Regions from separate parts of the Homo sapiens genome. Here region 2 is linked to region 1. Evidence: promoter capture Hi-C in human tissues and cell types (Jung and others, 2019). All regions are on one chromosome and are shown on one strand. The core of a region is centred on a gene start or on the middle of the fragment in contact, and the rest is flanking DNA. Distances in the headings are between cores, read along the strand shown. Region 1 overlaps ST3GAL3 (ST3 beta-galactoside alpha-2,3-sialyltransferase 3). Region 2 holds the start of IPO13 (importin 13).

Region 1 (4,548 bases), core at 1,036-3,535:
CAATGGGATCAAGCTCTGCCCCTTAGGAGCTCTTGCCCTGAGGGAGGCTGTGACAGGTGCCCATGGGCAGAGGAAACGATGTGAAAGGAGGATGGCAGAAGGCCAGAGTGAGACAGCAGCCCTTAGGCTCACTGGGGTTCACCAGGACAGACTCTATTTCCTACCATTCTCCCTTAAAAGTGTCTATCTGTGACCCTAATTCTACTGCCCTCAAGGCAAAGAGAGGGACTCTGAAAACACTAGTGTCTCAGTCCCCAGGGTTCTGAAAACAGTAGGGTACTCCTGGAACCGCTGTTATTTACCTGGTCTGTGTGGGCAGTGGGCCTGCTTGAAGTTGGGCCTGGCTAAGGCCAAATCATCACTCTGCTGCCTGGCCCTTTCCTCCCCTTTGGGGAGGTGGACTGGACACTGTGGAGCCCAGGTGTCTCATCCAGTCTGGTTCTGAAATGGATTCCCCTTCCCCACTGTCCCACCTACCTGAATTTCTGGACCTGACTTCTGTCTTCTCTCTTGCTTGCTACCTACTTGACACTGCCTGTACTTGGCCTTGCTTGGGAAAGAGCTGTGGAGTTAAACCAAATTGCACTGAGACCCTAAAGGCAAAGGAAGCTGTTCCCACTCCCAACTCTTCTCTAAACCTCTGGAAAGAACAATCAGCTTCTCACTGTAGGCAGAGGGCCGTCTGTCACCATCCTCCTCTAGCAAGAGGCTTGGGTATTAGAAGATGAATGGCCTGAGCTCTGCAGTACCCCACCCCTGGGGCTGCTGGTGACAGCTGGTTGTGGGGGAGTGGGCCTGGACAAGTTCACGGATGTCCCTGTAGGCCCAGAGCTGGGAAGTAGAGGTCTCGGGAGGGAACTCAGTGGTGGTCTCCTAAAGAGCAGTTGACCTTACTCTGCCACATAAGCTCCCTAAAGAAATGGGCCCAGACCCTTACCTGCTTAGAACAGTCAGTAGAACCTGATCATTCCCAATGATCAGACTCAGTGGCAGGTTGGGAATTCAACTATAAGTCAGTGGTAAAAGTACAAAGTGGAAACAGGCCAGGACTTCTAAGTTTGGGAGCTGGCACTCTCAAGTTGAGGGGTCTGCTGTCCCTGCAGAACCCAGGCTGAGAAAGAGGGCAGGGACCCCTAAGACCAGAGCCAGAGAGACCTTACAGAGGAGAAGAGGGTGCAAGGGAGGCAGCTACAAGGTCAGGGCAGGAAAGTAGAAAGATTGGGAGTGATACGAAGGCTGGCCTGAGAGACAGAGCTTCCCTTGGCCAGGAGATCTAAGGCCAGGGAAGGGCCCCTGGGGCTGCTGGGGTCTGGCTACAGAAGGCTGAGAAAGGATCTGCACCTGGGCACCTGGAAGCAGGTAGCAGGTTTCAGGCATATTGGCTCCTGGAGTTTGGCCAGTAACCCGGGCAATCTCCTGACCTCTTTGCCCCCTGGTTGCCATTGGGTGATTTCGGCTTTGGGTCATTAATGTTTCCTTTGAAGGTTCTTACTCGTTCTTTGCTGCATTCAAGGGGCGGGATTGCTTAGGAGTTGCGGAAGCCCAGGGCAAGAGGGGAAGAAGCTGGTGCCAGGAGAGCTTACCACTCTCTCCTTGTAGACGATGTATTTCAACCACTTAAAGTCCTGCCACTTGAAGCCGGCGAGGACAAAGAGAGAATCGCGCTCGTACTGCTCAGGCCGCTGCATGGCGCCCTCGGGGTAGGTGATGCGCAGTGTCGTTTTGCTGCCCACGTCCTTCTCAAAGCCTTTCACTGGTGCTGAATTCAGTCTACAGAGAGCAGGCCCACTCAGAGCCTGGGCCTGTGTTTGGGAAGGCACCATGACCCCAGACTATCCCAGGCATGGAGAATAGGGAGTCCAGGTCACCTGGACCTATTCTCCCCAGGTGCCCCCGCTAGTTGTCTGTTCCAAAGCCCTCCAACCCAGAGTTCTTGAGGCTTCCGTTGACCTCCAGCCCAACTAGCCAGACAGACAGTTCTCAATGGGCTCAGGACTAAGGGTTGGGGCCACGACACTCACCCGAGGTGCCATTTTGGGGAGCTCACCTCACCACAATGTCATAGTCGTCAATTCGTGACCCCAGAGACTTGTTGGCAAGAACGCCTCCATTGCCCACGATGATGCAGCGGCGGCAGCGGAGGCTGAGGGGAGAGAGGCGGAGACCTCTGTACAGAGAGCTGCCCACCAGGTCTCTTTCCCTGCTCCTTTGGCCCTTGACCCCACGCCCTTGTCCAGGACCAGGCTGGGATAGAGGAAGAAGACCAATGGGCTTCTGGCAGCATTTCTGAGAGAAGGCCTGAACCATACAATGGGTAGCTGGGCCCTGAGACTCTCCAGCATCTCTATCTAGGCCCTGACACTTCCCCAGGAAAACAGGGCCATGGAAAGGCTTGGGTGCCAGGCGTGGGTGGTGAGGAGGGAGCTTTGGTAAGATGACATTCTAGGGTAAAGGTTCCCCAAGGGGTAGTGGTGTTTAGGCAGGCTTCAGGGGAGAGGGAAAAGTGGGCCGAGCTTGGGGCTATACCAGGAAAGCAAGAAAAGGGGAACGGGACAGGAGGCTCTAGGACTCAAGGCTCCCAGCAGCCACTAGAGAGCTTACCCATCTTGCTTCTCCCATCCCTGACCCTGGGGCTTCCTGCTCTAGGGTCTGTTGGTTTGGGAGCTGTCACTGCCTTCTGGACTTAAGCCTTGCCCCCTTCACCTGCCCCCGCCACCCAGGCCCTCAGTCCCATTGCTGGGCTAGTCCCAGCCCCAGTGTGTTCAGTTCTTACCCTCAAACCTCTGGTATCTGAGGACTGGGATGTCCTGCCAAGTGCTGACAGCCCGTGGGGGTGCAAGTCAGGTGGAGTGGTTCCACTTACCTGCTCCACCCACCCTGTGTGTGTACTGTATGTGCATGTGTGGATGTGCTGGAGAAACTGCCCATGTCCAGGGAAGGCCAGCTGGGCCTCAACACCTCTGCACACCACCAGGCAGCGGTGGGTAGGAGGCTGCACAGTGTGTGGCTCACCTGTCCAAGGCAGGGGTCAGGCGGTACTCTTTGGTGACTGACAAGATGGCTTTGATCAGATTGTCTGCAGACAGAGGAGAGAGGTTTCTGTTACAGGGTCACTTACCTTTCTATAAAATGTTTACTGATAATCCTACTGGAAGACACAAGTCCCTAGGGGCTAGAGTGAAAGTGGAAGTGGAGAGAGCTCTGGACACAAGGATGTATTGGGCCACTGCCCTGACTTTCTTCCTGAGAAAGGAGGTGATGGCAGGAAACAGACAGGCATATCACTGCCGGGAGCCCGTCCCTAACACTGGCACGCAGCTTCTCTCCCAGGCTTCTGGGAGGCTCATCTGGTTTTCTGAGGCTCTGTAGTCAGGCCCCAGGACATGCATTCCCAGGCCAGGGCCTTCCCTGGAAGCTGGCGCACGCAGTCTCCCTGGAATGGGAGTACCTGCTCAGAGCTAGAGACCACCTTGTACTTATCTCTGTGCTCCCACCCAGCAGATACCAGGAAACAAATGAGGAGACACCCAGCAACTGAAGAGCTCACCACGTGCCTCATTATCTGACATCACCTTTCCCTCACTTCCTCCCTCTCACATTGCCAATCCTGAATCCTGCTCTTTGCCAGGCTGTCTTTACCTCCTCACCTCTTTACTCCCTGAGCCTGGCTCTGCCCACCTGCACTCCATTCAGCAAAGACCCCCATGACTTCTGTGCTCTCAGACCTGTGCCCACTATTTAGACCTCATCTCCTTGGCCTCTCTCTGGCTTTGGCAATAAGGACTGCTCTTCCAAACTCTGGTATCATGAGAGCACTATAATATGATGTATAGTGAATAGCAAGGGTATTGGCTTTGGAGTCAAATACTGGCTGTGCTCTGTGACCTTATATAAATCATTTCCTTTCTTTGAGCTTTAGTTTCCTCATCTCTAAAATGAAAGTAATTCCTATTTTGTGGAGTTGTTAGGAAGATATAAAATAACGTACACAAAGACCTAAAAATAAAGTAAACTGGTATCACCACAATGGAGAGCATCTTAATAACATCAAATAACCACGAAGATGTGCAGACACTAAGATCCTACAACTATGCTCCTAGGCGTGGAGCGTTGAAAAAGTCACACACTTGCTCCAGGAGACATGCAAGAGTGTTTGCTGATGAACTGTTTGTAATAGCAAAATGGTGGAGGCAAGCTGAATGTCCACCAAAAAAAAAAAAAACCAGATTAAATGTGGTGTATGAAATCCTATACAGCCATTAAAAAAAAAAAATCAATGACCTACAGCTGTATGTACCAATATAGATAAATCTCAAAAACACATTAAAAAAATATGAAGAATATACATACACATATACACAAATACATGTACATATAATGACACCATTTGTAAAGTCTAAAGACATGTAAGAGCGGTACTATATTTTTAATAAATATATAAATATGTAGTGAAAATACATAAACAAGCCCGGGTGTGGTGGCTCACACCTGTAATCCCAGCACTTTGGGAGGCCAAGGAGGGAGGATTGCTTGAGCTCAGGAGTTTGA
Region 2 (4,227 bases), core at 1,423-3,922, 48 kb before region 1:
GGTCAGTGGGGATGTCACTCCAGTAGCGAGAGATCTTGATGTGAAGAGCACTGGCCCCAAAGTACTGGATCTCTGGTACCTTGTCGGGCTGCAGTAGCTGCCAGCTGAAGTGCCAGGCCTGTGGGGAGACCTGGGCCTGCATCAGCCACTTCTGAGCCAGGTTCTTATTCTCAATGTTGGGATCATAGTAGAGCTGGTGCAGCGCCTGCAGGACAGCACAGGACTGAGCAGGTGCTGGCCACTCTGGATCCTGCCAGAGCCCAGAACAGAGGCGTGACTTGGTCCTGCAAGGCTGCTCCCTCTCCCTGACTGGGGGGCTGAGCAGGGAGAGCTCAGCGCTCTGCAGTGTTTCCTGGGCCTGGGGTCCTGCTGATATCTTGAGAGCCTGAACCTTGCCCATGCTCTACCATATCCTCTTCTCCTTACAGCAAAACATTATGGGTTCAGAGAGGGAATCTCCACAGGAAAGCAAAAAAGAGGAGGCTGATCTCCCCAAAGGGGAGGCACTTGAGGGCAAGGCCCAGGTGGAAGGAACAGCTTCACAGGGATGAAGCTAAGTCTGAGAAGGGCATGGAACAGCTTGAGGGGACTTGACCCTCCCAGGCACAGCTGCTCCCATCAACTCCAACAGCTCCTTTCAGCTCCCCCAGGATCATCCCTAGGTCAGTCCAGATGCTGGCACCAAAGCCAGTGTGAAATCAGAGCAGGACTAAGACTTTTGCCAGGCAGCCCTGGGGCAGACATGCTGGAGGAGAGGGTGAGAACACTCCTCAGAGGGCACATGTCCAACCAATTGATCCAGAGAAGCCTTGGCCATAGCTGCAGCCCTGGCAAACACCTAGCTTAGTGCTCTCCACTAGCAGAATCCCCGGGGTCTCAATTCCAACGGGACTTTATGAAGTAAGAAAACAGTGAGATTTATCTCCCAATAGCACATGGAACAGTGCGCCACCATGCCAACACTGCCCTGCTCCAAGGGGCGGAAGAGTATGGCCAGGACCCTGACCCCTAAGCAGGCTCCATCCAAGTAAGCTTAGCTCTATTTGTACCCCTGACAGCCAGTTATGGCCATTGGCCCTTGTTTGGCCCCTCAGGGACGCCAAAGCAGGCAGAAGAGATGCATCCTCATTGTTTGTTATGGCAAACGGGGGTTAAGGATAACAAGTGAACATCATTCCCTGCTTTCAAGTAAGGGAGCCCCATCTCCCCATTCATCCCAGGGTGCATGCATTCCTGCATTTCAAGTTGTAGGGAGCAGATACAGAAAAGAACCAAAGAGGCAGTTCAGAAAGATGGGCTGGGCAGTCGGGGAGCCTGGGAGGGCCATGGCAGGGAGCTATGTGGGCAGGCGAGTAGGGAGGAGCCCTGTAAGGCTCCCAGCAGGGCCAGGACCCTTGGACTCAGCACAAAACAAAGGGAGACAGCCCCAGGCCTGCCTGCTCAGGACTGGTCTGGCTTCCATCCAATAAAGGAAGGACCCTTCTCCAAAGAGTCAAAACAACCCAGATTGTTTTAGTTCCAGATTATTTTCTGAGCCCTTGGCTCAACAAAACCAGGTCCAGGATGGTTTGGCATCAGTATAATTCCAGGAGACTGAGCTGCAGGTCTCCTGGGTTCCCAGTTTCCTACTGCACTGCTCATGCAGTTCCCATGGAGCTGGAACATAGCCAGTCTGGACGGAAGGCTAAGTCACAGCACCCTGAAGGGACCATCCCAAGACCCTAGAGTATCTATCCACAGGGGACCTGCCTGTAAGGAAAGACAAAAATAGCCCATTAGGGCACTGCAATACTGCCTGCCCAGAAAGAGAGCAAATGCCAGGTGCTCTGGGGGCACCATACCAGCGGGCACCCAGCCCAGGCCTGAGCTCTGCCATCAGTGACAGTCCCCAGAACTTCTGCTCTGTCACTGGAGTGCCCACCCCAGAGCCCTCATACCTTCTCCACGTTCTCCACAGTGAAGTCCAAGGCTGGTGCTGCTCCAGCCCCTGCAGCCCCCGGCTGCTCCTCCCGCCGCTCCATCTTTGCTCCCTCCCTGGCAGGGAGGTGGGCCCTGATCTGTCTCCTGCCCCAGCCCCTTGGCTGCTGGCCCCCTGCTAGACCCCGGCTTGGGTGCCCAGGGAGTGGTGGGGTGAGGGGGGGCCCAGGGCGGGCATGGCTGCCGAGGCCTCCCCACCTCGTTTGGGGGTGGGAGGCTTGCCAGAGACCAAAATTGGTGCTCTTAGGAGACCCAATGAAGGGGACTCCGAGGAGGGAGCCGTCAGTGAGGAGCTCTCAGGCGGGGATCCTAGTGGCAGGTAACAGCTCTGTCCCCAGAATCTGTGTGGAGGGAGTCACAGGGGAGGGAGGCCTGCGGGGGAAACCGAGTCCCTGGCTCTTGAGGGGTCACAGGGTCGATGGCCTGTACCCACAACACCCCCGCCTGGGTGAGCTCTCGGCTGCTATGAACAGGTCATGGGGCTGGAGGGTCACGGGAGAGAGAGAGCCCTTCGTGGTTACGGAGGCGTCCAACGAAGCGCGGAGATGCAGCTCCGCTAGTCTAGGGCGAAGAGTCCGTGGAGTTGAGGGGCTGTGGCAGGTCCCTTCCGTTCGGCCTGGCCCGCGCTGTGCTCAACGCCCGGCTACAGCCCCGCTACAGCCGCTGCCTCCGCCCCAGTGACTGACAAGACAAGCCAGGCCGGCCGGGACGGGGCAGGGACCTCGGCAAGGCGCGGGCTGCCCCGAGCGCCTGTCCCCGGCACCTCCAACTCAGGCCCCCACTCCTGCCAGTTCTGGCTCGGCACGGCCCGGTACAGGCCGGCACGGCCCAGCGGAACTGCGCGGAAACTCATTCCGGGTCCTTAGCCCTGTCCTCGCGCCAGCTCGCACTCCCCTGAGCAGGCGGTGGAGCGGCTCGCCGCCCCAGGCCGCGGCCGAGTCTAGGCCCCGCCGCTGTTCACCCTGGGAAATGTAGTCCGTGTTGCGCCTAGCCGGAAGGCGGCGCCCTGCGGAGGAGGCCGGGAGCACGTGGGTTGGGGACCTGCAGAGCCCCGCCTGTCCTCGGCCTACCGCGGCGAGCAGGCATTCCGGGTCAGACCGGCGCGGGGCGCTGCGGCCCAACTCCTTAGTAGGACGACGTGACTCGAGGGGCCGGAGGACGGAGGTGGGAGCCCGGGCTAGAGGGTGGAGGCTGGGGAGGTTGCCTGGTCACTCTGGCGCTCCGCTGCCGGGGGCATCCTCCGGCCCAGCAAAGGTGCAGCCTGGGAAGAAGGCGTCAGCACCACCCAGAGAAGAGGAGAGGGGACTTGGCACGCCTCAGGAAGGAAAAAAGGAAGGCTCTCGGGACCACCCAATAAGCAACCGGGAAACCACATACCATGGACAGTGCTCGGGGAATTTCGTAAGGTTTTTGGAAGTAACTTTATGTGTAACTAGAGTAAGAGTAGCTTACATTTAAGTGCTAGGAGCAGGACTTTGCTTACCTTAGGTTCAGTTTTCTTAATAGCTCTGAGGTGGATATTTTTATTCATCATTTTCAGATGAGATGAGGAAATCGAGCTTGGGGAAAGTTAGGCTTATCTTGCCCCTGGCACACAGACAGGGTGGCAGACCATGCCATAGATCTGGTCTGCCACAGGCCCCGGTAGTTCCTGCCTGTCACCCCTCCAGTTGTATTTTATTGTTTATTAACTCCTGCCAGCTACCCTAGCAGGGAAGAGGAAAAAATTAAAAGTGCAAAGAGCTCCGTAGTTTTGTTCAAATGGAGGAAGCTGGCATTGGAAGCTGGCATTGGCAGCAGCTGCTGAGGCCTGAGAAGGTCCATGAAGGCTTCCCTGAGAAGAGAAACTTGATCTGAGCTTGAAGAATAGAGAGCCTGGGAAGGAGAGGGGCCCATTTAGCTGGTAAGCAAAATCCAGTAGGACTCTAAGTCATTCAGCAAGTCTTCATCAATAAAGAATAGCAAGTAGGCCGGGCGCGGTGGCTCACGCCTGTAATCCCAGCACTATGGGAGGCTGAGGCGGGCGGATCACGAGGTCAGGAGATCGAGACCATCCTGGCTAACACGGTGAAACCCCGTCTCTACTAAAAATACAAAAAATTAGCCGGGCATGGTGGCAGGCACCTGTAGTCCCAGCTATTCGGGAGGCTGAGGCAGGAGAATGGCTTGAACACGGGAGGTGGAGCTTGCAGTGAGCTGAGATCACGCCACTGCACTCCAGCCTGGGCGACAGAGTGAGACTCCGTCTAA

The links. The method cuts DNA at HindIII sites, captures the fragments that hold promoters and counts their contacts. A contact is called where the count stands out against the background at its distance.
Region 2: a contact is called between the fragment with the promoter of IPO13 here and a fragment that was not itself captured in region 1, in 2 of the 25 tissues and cell types used here (mesenchymal stem cells and pancreas).

Annotation. Positions count from the first base shown.
Region 1 is chr1:43,896,763-43,901,310 of GRCh38, reverse strand. ST3GAL3 (ST3 beta-galactoside alpha-2,3-sialyltransferase 3) reads right to left here. Exons shown (of 12, transcript NM_006279.5): 7 at 3,013-3,076; 8 at 2,048-2,143; 9 at 1,584-1,770. Among named protein-coding and RNA genes, the nearest start is that of ARTN, 35 kb to the left of the region's middle. RefSeq lists an enhancer at 770-1,628. The HindIII fragment of the contact is 8,839 bases long and covers 1-4,548 here.
Region 2 is chr1:43,945,395-43,949,621 of GRCh38, reverse strand. It overlaps IPO13 (importin 13), which reads right to left and starts at 2,672. Exons shown (of 20, transcript NM_014652.4): 1 at 1,938-2,672; 2 at 1-205. The coding sequence starts at 2,021. LOC101929609 (a long non-coding RNA gene) reads left to right here and starts at 3,023. Exons shown (of 2, transcript NR_188535.1): 1 at 3,023-3,141. RefSeq lists a silencer at 2,627-2,876. The HindIII fragment of the contact is 10,546 bases long and covers 29-4,227 here.